2 separate regions of the Homo sapiens genome follow, and region 1 is linked to region 2. Evidence: promoter capture Hi-C in 16 types of primary human blood cells and fetal thymus (Javierre and others, 2016). All regions are on one chromosome and are shown on one strand. The core of a region is centred on a gene start or on the middle of the fragment in contact, and the rest is flanking DNA. Distances in the headings are between cores, read along the strand shown.

Evidence for each region. The method cuts DNA at HindIII sites, captures the fragments that hold promoters and counts their contacts. A CHiCAGO score of 5 or more calls a contact.
Region 1: a contact is called between a fragment that was not itself captured here and the fragment with the promoter of ISM1 in region 2, in 1 of 17 cell types (total CD4 T cells). The highest score is 6.6, in total CD4 T cells.

The regions. Positions count from the first base shown.
Region 1 is chr20:10,423,394-10,430,198 of GRCh38, reverse strand. The region is part of intron 1 of MKKS (MKKS centrosomal shuttling protein); the gene reads left to right. The region is part of intron 1 of LOC128706665; the gene reads left to right. The region is part of intron 1 of LOC128706666; the gene reads left to right. Among named protein-coding and RNA genes, the nearest start is that of MKKS, 7.4 kb to the left of the region's middle. RefSeq lists a silencer at 1,887-1,936. The HindIII fragment of the contact is 3,279 bases long and covers 1-3,089 here.
Region 2 is chr20:13,217,169-13,224,563 of GRCh38, reverse strand. ISM1 (isthmin 1) reads right to left here and starts at 3,290. Exons shown (of 6, transcript NM_080826.2): 1 at 2,650-3,290. The coding sequence starts at 2,787. It also overlaps a transcript of TASP1 not described here. RefSeq lists silencers at 2,859-2,928, 3,388-3,507. The HindIII fragment of the contact is 8,964 bases long and covers 961-7,395 here.

The DNA.
Region 1 (6,805 bases), core at 201-2,700, 2.8 Mb after region 2:
TGCTTGACTTTCTGAAAACTGGTAGGCAGGATCTAGATCCTAGTGGATTTTTCTTTCTGCTGTACTAAGAAATTTAGATTTCACTCTAGTCAAAAATGTCACTAAAGGCTTTTAAGCAAAGCAGGAATACAACCAGATTTGTTTTTGTTTTTGTTTTTTTGTTTTTTGTTTTGCAAGATGGCTATATTAAAAGTGTAGAGAATGGATTAGTGGATGTAGACTAGAACAGTGGGTCTCAAACTTTAGCTTCAGAATTACCTAAAGAATTAATTAAAACACAGATTACTGGACCCCACCCTAGAGTTTCTGACTCAGTAGGTCAGGAGGGGCAGCTTGATAATTTGCATTTCTAGTAAATTCCCAAGTGTTGCTAATGGCACTGTTGAGAGGACCACAGTTTGAGAACTACTGGAATTGAAGCAAGGAGGTCATGTGAGGGCGCGAGGGTCTGGACTGTGACCCTAGGGAGGAGGGATTATGTAAAGAAACACTTATGTCAAATGGCAGGATGTGCTGAGTGAGTTGATGAGGAGCATGAGGAAAAGGGCAGAGTCCAGTATATCCAGATTTCTGAATTGAATGGCTTAGTAGATGATGCTTTTTGTTAACGAAACAGGAAATCCAGGTGGAACAGCAGTTTGGGAGGGAAAGAGGACTTATTTTTATATGAGATGAATTGAGACTATTTGTGGGGACGGTTAGTTCAAAGGTGTACAGTAGCAGTTTATTATGTGGGTCTAAGCTGGAGATGAACGTGTGAGAGCCAGAGTGGATGCATGATCATAGAAGTTTGGGGATTGAATGAGACCGCCCAGGAAACAAACACTACCAAAGACAGATCTTTGATAAGGATGAATAGGTGGATGGAAACCAGCAGGCTATTAAAGGAGACTAAGAAGGAACAGTATAGAGTCCTGAGTACTTAGGAGTCTCAAGAACACATCAAAAGGCTACAGGGAGATTATGTAAGGGGAAGGATTGGTGATCTTTATGGTCAGAACACTTTCCATGGAGAATGAAACAAAAGCAGATTGCTTGGGTTTGAAGATGGAATGGGAAGTGACTAGGAAAAGATGCATTATTTGAAAGGAAAGAGATTGTGTAGTACTGGGAAGGAAGATGGTAAAGGGCAGTTGCCTTAGGGAATTTGTTTTTGACTCTTTTCAGTGGAGAAAAATAGTCATAGTTATGCAAAAGAGAAAGGCCCTTAAGAGTGGAAGGTTGGAGGTAGATGAGAGGGGATAATGAAGTTAGAACCCCAAAGACACAGTAGAAAGTGGGACTGGAACACAGGTAATAGGAATACCAGTTCTTCTGACAGCAGGCAAGGAGTTTTATTTATTTATTTATTTATTGAGACGGAGTCTTGCTCTGTCACCTAGGCTGGAGTGCAATGGCGCGATCTCGACTCACTGTAATGTAACCTCTGCCTCCTGGATTCAAGCGATTCTCCTGTTTCAGCCTCCCAGGTAACTGGGATTACAGGTGCACCCACCACATCCAGCTAATTTTTCATATTTTTGGTAGAAATGGGGTTTCACCATCTTGGCCAAACTGGTCTCAAAATCCTGACCTCAAGTGATCCACCTTCCTCAGCCTCCCCGAGTGCTGGAATTAGAGGCGTGAGCCACCGCGCCCAGCTGAAAGAAGATTTAGTTGAGAGCTAAGGTGCACATAAGGGGACAACAAGTTAGAGGTGTTCATACCTAAAGAGCTATAATGTCCTCTGGCCAATAGGTTATCTGCAGAAATGAAGGTGGAGCATACAATTAAAATCTTGAAAATGATGAAGGGTAGAAATGGGCTCTTTAGGGATTCAGAACATACCAGGAACATAAAGTGTTTGCTGTAGCACTAAAGGCCCATTCATCTAGGTATCTGATCTGGAACAATCTGGCTATCTGCATGATACCTACTCCCCTCTCCTCCACCAATCACCAGCATCAAATGGCAGCCAGGGTGTAAAAACAGTGAAAGGGGACAGGATTCTCAGACAACTCTATAAACCACTACAACCATTGTGATAAACCACAGCTTGCTGGTAAGCTAGTTTTCACTTCTCATTAGTTGTTAATCACTTGCTTAATATTTGAGACTGCCTACAATTAGTGAAACCCCCATATAAGACTTATGATGCTTTCAGTATATTTTTTATTTACAAATACATTAAATTCACAGCAATGAGCAGGGAGGAATAGCAAAAGACATAAGATACTTACGCATACCTGTTTCGGCCTTCTGACTGCAGATCCACTCCTGACTCAGTTACGCTGTTAGCAGCCCAGCTCTTGGATATAGGTCAAGCTGACCTTGAATGGTTTGGTGGGGAAGGTGGTAGGATTTGCAGAATGGAAACTTTAGAACTCAATTATGATCCATGGGTTCATTAAGAATTACAGTATTGTTTTTGGGGTGTGTGTTTTTACAAGACTGGAGAAGTCCAGCAAAATGAGTGTTATTTTAGGTGATATAGTTGGAAAAGAAAAAGGAAAACGATTGTTCTGTTTACCATGTCAGTTCATTTCATAGCACAGTTGAAGACCACGTGCAGTCTTTTCTATTGTGTACACAGAAAAAATGCCACAATTCAAACTGCTGTATTAAAAATTGAGGATAAAAAATAACTTTTGAATGTTGATGATGAGAATTCAGAAATGAAGAATTCACAAATACCTAAAGCCAACATTGTCATTGTAAAAGAAAAGGCATAGTACAATTCCAGTAAACTTCATAAAGTTTCATTATCACAAGAGCTGGGTTAATTGGTTTTTAATATTCTATCTAATGTTCTTCTCATGATTAAATTACATTCAGTGGAAGTTTTTAAAAATTACAATTTTTTCAAATCACAACAGCAATTAAGACCAAAAAGAATCCGTTTTACACTGTGTCCAAAAGGCCAGCAGATGGCGCCCAGCAAGCCCAATAGGCAAAATGAGAACATTTGATGTAACATTCCCTGCATCCAAGTTATTTTAGGCCTAATTTTGCAGGAAGCAATTAAAAAAACTTGATGGCTTTAACTAATACTATGCTAGATAGAATAATCTGATGGCTAGATCCAGCTGTTTGGGAAGTTCTAGGAAGCTTGCTTGCCTTTTTGCCCTTAACCTTACTTTGTGTGTGTGTGTGTGTGTGTGTGTGTGTGTGTGTGTGTGTGTGTGTGTGTCAGTGTTTTCTTTTCTTGGCCTTTAAGCTACTCTAAAAGATTACAGTATTTATAATGAGGTAGAAGCATAGCAAGTTCTCCCTCTTCTGTTCATTAATCTCTTGCTGTCATTCTATACTGAGAACTAAATTAAAGAAAACTGAACTAACCCAGCTAATCTCAACCATTAGTAGGTCACGGATGTGTTTTTGGAGGATATAGACTCTTTTGCCCTCTAATTTTTTTGTTTTTCTTACCTCCAGAACTGTAAGATGCCCTCTAATTTTGGACAAGTGAAATGACAGCTGTTAACCTTTTATATACCTGACATGAAAATCAGCCAAGGACATGCCACGGGGCGTGCATGGCTCATGCCTGTAATCCCAGCACTTTGGGAGGCTGAGGCGGACATATCACTTGAGGCCAGGAGTTGAGACCAGCCTGGGCAACATGGTGAAACCCCGTCTCTACTAAAATACAAAAATTAGTCGGGCATGGTGGCGTGGGCCTGTAATCTCAGCTACCTGGGAGGCTGAGGTACGAGAATCCCTTAAATCTGGCATGCGGAGGTGAGCCGAGATCACACCACTACGCTCCCCCTTGGGCAACAGAGTGAGACTGTCCCAAAAAAAGAAAAAAGAACAACATGCCAGGCATGATGCCCCAAGCTAGTTGACCTCAGTGATCCTCAAGGGTGTGCCTCACGCCCTCCAAATGTTCCCCTCATCCGTGATCACACACTGGAAATCCTGATAGACAGTACTGCCCAAGCTGGGGCACTAATTCTTGACTTGAAGAATTGCTTAGTAGAGTACTAGGCAAGACTTTAAAGACTTCACATCTAAATTGAATGCCACAGTTAACTGACAGTAATCTTAGAATCAATCATTTAATGTTTCTTCATTTATAAAATGATCTCATAAAGTTGCTATGAAAGCAAAACAAAATGAAAAATATGAAACTTTTGAATAATTTAAGACCATACTTTTGAGAGAAGAATATGAAAAGCATAATCCACATTAAGATTGCCTCTAAACTTTTTCTAAACTTAACAAAAGACATTTTAGTAAATGAAACTATAAATATCAACTCTATTTTACTTGATCTAAAATTTACTAATCTCATTTCATGTCTCTTGATTTCTCTATCCTTCTAAAGGAGTCTTTTTTTAGAAATATGTTTAAAGAAGATTCAGGAAAGAAAGAAAGGGCAGTGGCAAGTACATTAGAGGGTAAGGAAGGGAAAAAATCTCATTTCTCTTGTTGCTTTGCTCCAAACTTGAAAAGTTCAATAAATGAGCATCAAACACTAACTTATTTTAGGGATTAACCAGTTACTGCTCATCAAATCTGATCATTTTGAGCTTATTCTTGAGAAATCTTTGTTTTAGACTCAGAATCTCTACAAGACAGTCCATGCCTCTTGGAACAACTTGCCAAGTGTTTTGAGGGAAGGACCATCTCAAGGCAAACTGTAAATAGCTTAAGTTTGTTTCACAAATTGGATCTCCCAGTCTGTCTGCTTCTCAGTATCATGAACCTTTCTAAAAGTCAAGGTTTTAAAAACTTTCTTGTCAAGTTCATTTGAAAAATGAGTTAATTTTTAAGAAATTTGTTAATTCTGAAAAGCAGCACATAGAGGCTTTGAGCATGGACTCTGGAGTATTTACACAAATATTTATTGCCATAGCATATTTTGCAATAAAGCATTGAAAAATCTCAAATTTCTTTCAATCACAGATTGGTCAAATTAGGATATCGCCATTATAATCAAATGCTGTATAGCTCTTAAAAATGATAATGGAGATTTATATTCTTTGCAAGAGGGATTACAAAACAGCATGTGTATCATGATCACATTTTTGTTACACCCAAAAGATTTTAGCTCTCTTTTCCTTGTTTCTATATTTGCTAACTTTAAAAAGTAAGGTTATACTATACTATATTTATTAGAAAAGAACAGTAATGCTAATTTTCTTTCTTTCTTTTTTTTTTTTTGAGACGGAGTTTAGCTCTTGTTGCCTAGGTGGGAGTGCAATGGCATGATCTTGGCTCACTGCAACCTCCGCCTCCCAGGTTCAAGTGATTCTTCTGCCTCAGCCTCCCGAGTAGCTGGGATTACAGGCGCCTGCCACCACACCAGCCTAATTTTTTGTATTTTTAGTAGAGACAGGGTTTCACCATGTTGGCCAGACTGGTCTCAAACTCCTGACCTCAGGTGATCCACCTGCCTCGGCCTCCCAAAGTGCTGGGATTACAGGCATGAGCCACCGTGCCCTGCTCTAATTTTCATTTTGTAAAAAACCACAGAGGAACTAAGAAGAAAAAAAGTGCTAAATTTAAATTGTATCCCCAAAATATGTTTGATTGTAAGTAAAAGCTCTGCAAGAGTTTATAAACAAAATAAATAACACATTACCTCGCTAACTACCATATCAAATATAAAATTTGAAAACTATTTTTTTTTTTGTAAAACTAGCAATGAGCTTTGCTAGTAAGGTATAGTAAGGTCTAATGTGTCTTGCCCTGAGAAGAGGTTATGCAGGCAATAGAATACATCCAATGTACTGGAGATTTTTCACTATTAAGTGAAAGAAATGAAGTAGTTTAAAGTTATATGCCAATGTCATTTTTTAAAAATATATGTTTTTTCTTTTAAAATAGAGATGAAGTCTCACTGTATTGCCCAGGCAGTCTCGAACTCATGGGCTCAAGCAGTCCCCCTGCCTGAGCCTCCTAGAGTGCTGGGGTAACAGGTGTGAGCCACTGTGCCTGGCCTTTTTTTTTCCTTTTTATTTAATATATATTTTTTTCTTTTAAAATAGAGATGAGGTCTCATTATATGCCAATGTCATTTTAAAGTGCTAATTCCATCTTGCTCAGTGAAAAGGGACTATTATATGTACAGTGTGATACTTATTGTTTTTATGTGAATTAAATGAAAACTCTAAAAATAGTTTGTAACGTGAAAAGCCCTTCCATACTGATCCTAATCATTTCCCAAGCCTCTCAAAGGACAACAGAATTATCTGTCAGAAAATAGTTACTTGCTCTCTCACCCCCATTAGCCAAATCAATATATGAGATATGGAGAATTTGAGGAAGTGGGGACATGTAGATGTTCAGTAAACATTAAAGCAATTAATCATTAAATCAGTCTACATCATTTACTAACCAGGAAATACTGTACTGAGTCTCAGTGATGTTTAGCAAATAGAGTTTTCAGTTAAAATAGATACTGATTTCCAGGTTTAACTAAACCTAAATCTAGAAAAAGATTCATCGATCCTTAAGTTATCCTAATGGAAAGAGTAATAGACTGTTAAGCACAATATACATAAAATTGAGCATTTCTTTTATCTTTAACTGGGAGATGACCTAAAGATTCACTAAGTATTATAGGGAGCTAACCCTATATAATTTTCACTCTTCTCAAAGAGGGTTCATACTATGTCATTACATGCTGTTAACCACTTTGCTGGAGAGAATAGTACAACACTTCCCCAAACATTAGTGTTACAGATTGTCATTTAATTTGTTCCTAATTTTAGTTCTTGAGTTACAAATCTCAATTTTATTATTACATCCTTTTATCCTATCCAGTCTCTTTTTTGCTTTTGGTTTGTTTTTTTGAAACGATCGCATTTCATCACCTGTC
Region 2 (7,395 bases), core at 2,041-4,540:
TAATTTTCTGATTGTGAAGAAGGATTTTAGTAGCTCAGGATAGCACAGAACCAACAAATTTAGATGATGTTTAAGACTTGGGTTTAAAATGTCTGGTAAAAAGAAAGAATACAGTGTCCACAGTTTTGTCTTCAAATACACCTGCTACTAGCAAATTCACTTTCTGGGGCCTGAAAACGATGGACTAATAAATGTCTTTTGCAGACCTCCTCATTTGGCAGAACATTCTTCTTTTGACTTATAATACCTTCAGAGAGTCAGAGGGCCAAAGAAATAACTTTGGTCAGGAAGAGTATAAAACTTTTATAATAACAAATTACAAAACAGCAAAATTATGAACTAAACTGCTAAACTCATCATTCTGCTTGGAAAAGTGTGTGCATTGAGTGGACAGTCTCACCGAACACTATTACAAGATAAGCTGAAGCTGGTGGATTAGCAGCTACTTGGGACTCAAGATATTTCTAGGAGCATAACTCTTTCTAAATCCCCCATTTGTTGTGTCCTCTTGGGGCAGTTCTTCAGCCAAAGCCCCTTTTGAGAATTCAGTCCACTTCCCTTTTAGAACTGCCACTTCCACCAGCTGCTTCTCTCATTACCTTACTGTTCAAGCGGAAAAGGCCAACCCCGGGTTATTCTAATGATAGCAAACACCTCATAAAGTAATCTGCCAAATTTACTTTTCCACAGAACATCATTTTTATGGCTTTTCATGAGTCCATGAGGAAAGAAAGCATCATGTATAAAATATAACTTCCAGAAATCTTGAAGATATTAAGAATTATCTCCGCAGTGTTAGATTGGTGGGTGCCCCAGTCTATAGGATGGTGGCATCTTCAACTTCCGCATAGAAATTCCCTCAGTCTGTCACTGTACTTATCTACCCACGGGAGAAGGTGAGAGAACCCACAAAGTTAGGACATTTTTAGAAATGTCTCAAAGTTAAAACAACTTTAAGCTTTGGGGTGTGTACTTTTCTACTGTTTTGTAATTGCGTGCAATAATCACCTTGCTTTAGTCTATCCTGGTAGAGACAAAATTTGGTGTAATCAAGAGTTTGGAATGTCTGAACTTTGACAAGTTTTTTAACCTCTCTGTACCTCAGTTTTTGCATCTGTAAATGAGGCTATATTAACAGTACCATGTCTTGTAAGATTATGGTTAAATTAAGTGAGTTAAATTCTGTAAAGTACTTAAAACGGTGGCACGTAGTAAACACAATGGAAGTGTTTTATTAGTTTTCTCTTTACGGTAAAGTTTTTCGCAATAAATTGTATAAAGATGTAAAAAGTGAATTATCAAAGACAATGAATATAAAGGCCTTTGGGAACAATGAATAATGCTTATTTCATTTTATTTATTTATTTATTTATTTTATTTTATTTTATTTTATTTTATTTTTTTTTTGAGACGGAGTCTCGCTCTGTCGCCCAGGCTGGAGTGCAGTGGCGCGATCTCAGCTCACTACAACCTCCCGGGTTCAAGCAATTCTCCTGCCTCAGCCTCCCGAGTAACTGGGACTACAGGCGTGCGCCACCACGCCCAGCTAATTTTTGTATTTTTAGTAGAGACGGGGTTTCACCATGTCGGCCAGGATAGTCTCCAACACCTGGCCTGAGGTGATCCACCCGCCTCTGCCTGCTAAAGTGCTGGGATCACAGGCGTGAGCCACCGCGCCTGGTTTGAGCAGATTTTAGGAGCCAGAGAATCCCCTCTGCCTCCTGGGAAAATCCCTGCTTGCTTTTGCCTATGCTCCAAGTTTACAGTTGTCCCACCCCTAGACTCAAGGAAAGGCGCTAACATAGCGGCAGGAAATGCCTAGCTGGGCAATTCTATTCCTAAGTCAGAACTCACATTATGTCTGACCGTCCACTACGCCCTCTCCTTGCCCTGAAGTTGAAATGGATAAACAGAATCCCATTGCTAAAGCGACCTTCAACGGGGAAGATCCTTGGGAGAAAGACTTTGCTACAAGTTTAAAAGCCCCAGGTAACCCTGGCCCAAATCACTACCGGTGCCTTCACTCTGCACCTTCCCCATGACCAAGGGGGCACAAGGGGGGAGGGGGGAACCTCAGGCGAGGCTCCCGGAGGAAGAGGAACACTGGAAGCAAGGGAACCCTGAGGGTGAGGAGGGGATGCCTGGCTATTCTCCTTGGGAAATTATGTCCTGACCTTTGGCATTGCTTCCTAAAGGGGTAGACTCCCGGAGTTCTTTCTCCCAAAGACTTCAGGGATATCATCCTATAAAGTCTCCTTGCGTCCCTCCAGCCTCGAGTAACATTACTCAGCCTCCGAAGGGCAACGAAAGACTGGTAGCACCCCCAAGCAAGCACATTCTCCACACTTCCTCTGCTCATCCCAAACCTCGCTCCTTCCCACCTCCCCACCAACCCCGCACCTGACCCGTGACAGACAGAACTGAAGGAGCGCAGCCCGCAGACCTGGAAGCCGGGTGCAGCCTCCAGGCACGTGCCCCCGCTCCGCCTCTGCCTAAGTCAAGTGGCCCGGGCAAAACTACTGCCAAAACAGTTGCTCTTAGGTGGGGCAGGGGACCTGCCTCCCTGCATCCACCCGGCACTAGCTCAGCACCCCCGCCCCACAAACCGTCCCCGCAGCCGCGCACGGCCCTCTCCGGCGGCGCACTCACCTGCAGCTGGGCTTGGCTGGCGTTGCCCGCGGCCGCGTCGGGCCCGTCGGCGGCTCCCGAGCCGCGCAGCACGGTGATGTGCAGCGTGAGCAGCAGCAGCCCCAGCAGCAGCAGCAGCTCGGCCGCCAGGCGCACCATCCTTTTGAGACGCGCGGCTTTAGGACCCGGCGCGGCGGCCGGCGGCGGCGGCGGTGACGCCGGGGGAGGAGGAGTAGGAGCCCGGGAGCCCGGCAGCGCGGCTCCCGCCTCGGCTCCCGCCAGGGCTCCGCTTCCCGGGCCCGCGGGGCTGGCGCTGGGCGCGGCGGGGTGTGCGGGGCCGGGGGAGCAGGAGCTGCCGGCGCCGCCGCCGCCGCCGCCGCCGCACCACGGCGGAGCCACCGCGAGGCCGGGGGTGTCCAAGCCGGCTGCGGAGCAAGCCCCGGCGCTGCCTGGCGGCGGCGGCGGCGGAGACGGAGACTGGGTCCCGGGACAGCCCGGGACCCGGGCCGGGCCGGAGGCCACCCTGCTGGCAGGGGGCTGCGGGGTCGGCGGCGGGGCGGGCGCAGCCGAGCCCCCGAGCGCACATGGGCGCCCCAGATGTGGCCGCGGCGCCGCAGCTGGAGCGGGAGCGGCCGCCAGAGAAGCGCGGGGAGGAGGAGGAGGAGAAGGAGAAGGAGGAGGAGGAGGAGGAGGAGGAGGAGGAGGAGGAGGAGGAGTAGGAGGGCTTCAGCTGCGGCCGGGAGTTACCTCCACGCTTGGCGCCCCCGCCCTCGCCGCCCCGAGCCACTCACCCGGCAAGCCACCTCCACTACTCTCCGCGCTCCTCGGGGCCGCCTGCCGCGCCGCCCCGCACTCGGAGTCCCGGGGAGGGCCGGTTCCAGATGGGGGCCCCGGGCACACCGAGGTTGTCACGGTTTGGCGGTAGCCGGGGCGCCCTCGGCGGCAGCGTCAGCCTGCCGGGCTGTACCAAGTGCCCGCTGCCGAGGTCGCTGTGACGGGCGCGGGTAGAGCCCTTGTGCACACTGAGGCTCGGGGCTGTGGGTGGGTGGGGTGGTGCCTGGGCTGCTTTAGAAACCTTTATTGGCAAACTGGAGCTGGAGTTGCAGTGATGGAAAACGGAGGGGGCGCCGGACAAGCCATGCGTCTGCCTGCGACCCCTGCCTGAAGCAGTCGGGGGAGAGGAGGAGTGCCAAAGTGTCGTTCCGAAGGGTCTTGACACTTGCTGGGCCGCCCGCTAGCCGGGCACGGCTGTTCGCGGATCCGCGGCGCCCCGTAGAGCCTGGGAAGGGAGGGGAGTCCGACTCTCTAGGCGTTCGTCTGGTCACGGGCGCAGGTGTTGGCTGGAAGCTGCAGAGACGCAGTGCCCGCGGCTCAGGCGCTCAGGAACTCGGAGTGAATCTCAGCTCTAGTGGGCTTGCCTCTGTGGGGGGCTCATCCCGGGGGTGCCGCGCCCAGAGGGGATTTGGGGGCTGGCGTCGCGCAGCTGTCGATCCCGGGCCACCGCCTCATGACCGCGCTGCAGCCTCGGGCTCCCGCGTGCGGCTCATGCCTTGCAGTGGGCGGTTGGCGAATGGAAGGGCTCTGGGATCCGGCTGAGGGCGCGGAGTCCGAGCGTCAGATGCTAGAGCGAACTGTGTCGGTCCGTGGCACCGCGCACTTCCCTCCTTGACCTTGCTCGGGCTCCCGCCTTACCGAAGTGACTCGGAGTAGCGGACGCTCAGTCCGGCCGGGACTTTTATACTGCGCTTCCCCTCCTCCTACCCGTTCCCTCCCTTCCTCCTCCCCAGCGCCGGCCCAGCCCTTCCCTCCCAGCGAGCCAAGACCTAGTCCACGCGTTCGCACACAGCCGCGTCGCACATTTCCAAGCCTTTCCCGCGTCCCGGACCCCAGTGCCTCCGGGATGGAGCCTCCGAATTCTCCCTTGGTGAATGAAATTAAATAAATAATCAACTCTTTCTTGACGGCACGCCTCCCTTTCCCCCTCCCCAATTTCCTACCTTCCTTCTCCGCGTCCTAGAAAGATTTAAGATTCTTAATTCAACTGCTTTCGAGTTCTCGCAAGGCATCTCAACCAAGTATTAACCAAATTAAGGCAAACCCTTGCGCCTTTGCGAAGGTTCCTCCGGTCACCGCGGTACTTTGCAGAATTTAAATAGCGGTAGTTAAGGTAGGGTCTGCTGGTTGGGCTTATTTGTGCCCGGGAGAGGAAGGGCTTGCTGCCTCCTTAAAGATGCCTGAAGCATCTTTAAAATTCTAACTAACTCCAGCATCTTATTAATAAATTGGCAGCTGTTTATAGAGTCTGCTATATTTTTTCCTTTTCATTATTTTTTTTTGGGTGGGGAACGGTGCGAGGGAGGAGGGGAGATGTTTGGAGGGGTGCTTGCTTTGGATTTTTAGGCAGCCGGGCCTGTCAGACATCTTATTTCTATCTCTAGGCTCTAAAATGCCAATAATTGTCACTGGAGTGCGGGTCGGGGGGAGTGGGGGGAAACGCGAAACAATAACCGTCCGTATTTCAGATGGGAGATCAAAGAGGGGATCCCAGCAGCTTTTAAATCCTGGAAGGATCCTCCTGTGTGTTTTCTAATTAGGATCACTTAAAAGGGAAAGGGCTGGAGAATCAGCGCCGAAATAGAATGTATAAATTAAGATGGCAAACTAGAATCCCACAGCCAAAGAGTTTTAAGGATTGTTCTAACCTCCAGTTGTGCCAGATTATGATACGGGCTCGCAGGAACAAATGACTTTCCTATTGCCAGAGGCAGGCTGGTCTGAATTAGGATCCAGGGGCCGCTGTGTCCTGCCCTTTCATCACACACAGTCTCCACATGTAAACCTCAGCTGCTTCTCCTCTCATCTAAAAGTAACAGTTTTGGACCCAAGGCAAAAATGACCTTTAAAAAACTCTGGAAAGAAACCTTTGCAATGAATGTAAATTCTTGTAAAATAATTTGTAAATGGAGATTTGGAGATCAAAGTCTTTGTAAAATGTTGTAAAAATTGTAAATTGAATTTTGGGGACAGATGTCTTTATAAAATGTTGAACAAATGTATGAATGAATCCTATTAAAATCCCTTCACGCTGAGAGATCCCCATTCCAGGTGAATTTATGTTCCAGTAAGCACATATAACGAGTATTGATAAACACCCACGCTCTGATTCCAGTTGCCGAACCAGGCTTGCCAGCAGGGCTCTGTTTTTGAGTTAGGGAACACGGGCTTACAATTTTTGTGGAAAAACAATTACAAATTTAATAGACTAAACCAATTAAGTTTCAAGCACATTTATGAAATTGTACCAATAGCTGATAAAAATGTTTAAAATCCTACCTCCTTCAGCAGAGCGTCCAGAGCACCCTATTCATATCGTTATTACTGATTTTATGACACTTGGGGCACTTGTGTCTGTTTGCATGTCTGTTTTCCCACTAGACCTTGATTGGGATCACCTTTGTGGTAGAACATTTCAGAGCATCGCCCCACTCCCCACCTCCATCCCAGTATCTAGTTTTCTTTCTGGGTTCATGGCTATGAGACATTTTCTAGGTATACTTGGATCTAGGTTTGGGCTGTGAAGAGCTTTTTTCCTTCCAGGTTGACCATAAAACATCCTGAGTGATTATCTGCACACACTCTCTCTTTCCTTTTTTTTTTCTTTTTCATTCATTCATTCTTTTTTTTTTTTTGACAGAGTCACTCTGTCACCCAGGCTGGAGTGTAGTGGTGCGATCTCAGCTCACTGCAGCCTCTGCTTCCCAGGTTCAAGCAATTCTCCTTCCTCAGCTTACGGAGTAGCTGGGATTACAGAATCCTGCCCCCACGCCTGGCTGATTTTTGTACTCTTTAGTAGAGAGAGATTTTCACCGTATTGGCCAGGCTGGTCTCAAACTCCTGACCTCAAATGATCCACCCGCTTCGGCCTCCCAAAGTGCTGGGATTACAGGCATGAGCCAACGTGCCCAGCCCTCTCTTTCCTTTCTACATGGCAAAGGACTCTGAGGTGAAAGGAACTCAAATTGAGTTACTGCTCAAAAGAGAAAAATTGGACCAGGAATATCTGCATTGAACCTTGAGCAAGTGAGATAAAACTTTGTTCATAGACATTGTGATGTAGGGATGTTTGCACAGCAGCTGGTATAATAGTATATACATCCTGACAAGTATAATCTTTGAGACAATGCCTTGCACAGAGTAATTCTCAATTAGTGTTTTTAAAATGCATGTAACAAATCTGGTATTTGTTTATACCCCAAGTAATAGATTACCTTTCCTAGGAGTGCTTGTACTATAGGTGTCTGACATTAACTTTTATAACCATTCTGCCTCTTGATTGTACTATTCTCACGTAGATTTTGTCTTTCATTATTGGTCCCATTTATCTTACAGGCAGGCTTATTTGACTGGAATATTTTAAGGAAGTAAGAGAAATTAATAAGCCAGAACACCTGTAGTTACTATCATTGCAGAGAACCTTGTGGCCTATTATGACTAGGATTTTATTGTTTTTATTTTATTTTGCCAAAGAGTGGTACAACATAGCAAAGAGTAGTTTCAATGTAATCCTTAATTTTTTTTACTATGGAAAGTTTTTAATATATACAAAAGTAAAGAGAATAATATACTAAATCCTTACTCATAAGCCAGCTTCAACAAAACTTATGGCCAATCTTGTCTTACCTGCATTCTCAGTATTTTCAAAAATTTCCTCCGTTTCAGATTATTTTAAGCAAATTCATGATATGTCATTTCATATGTACATATTTC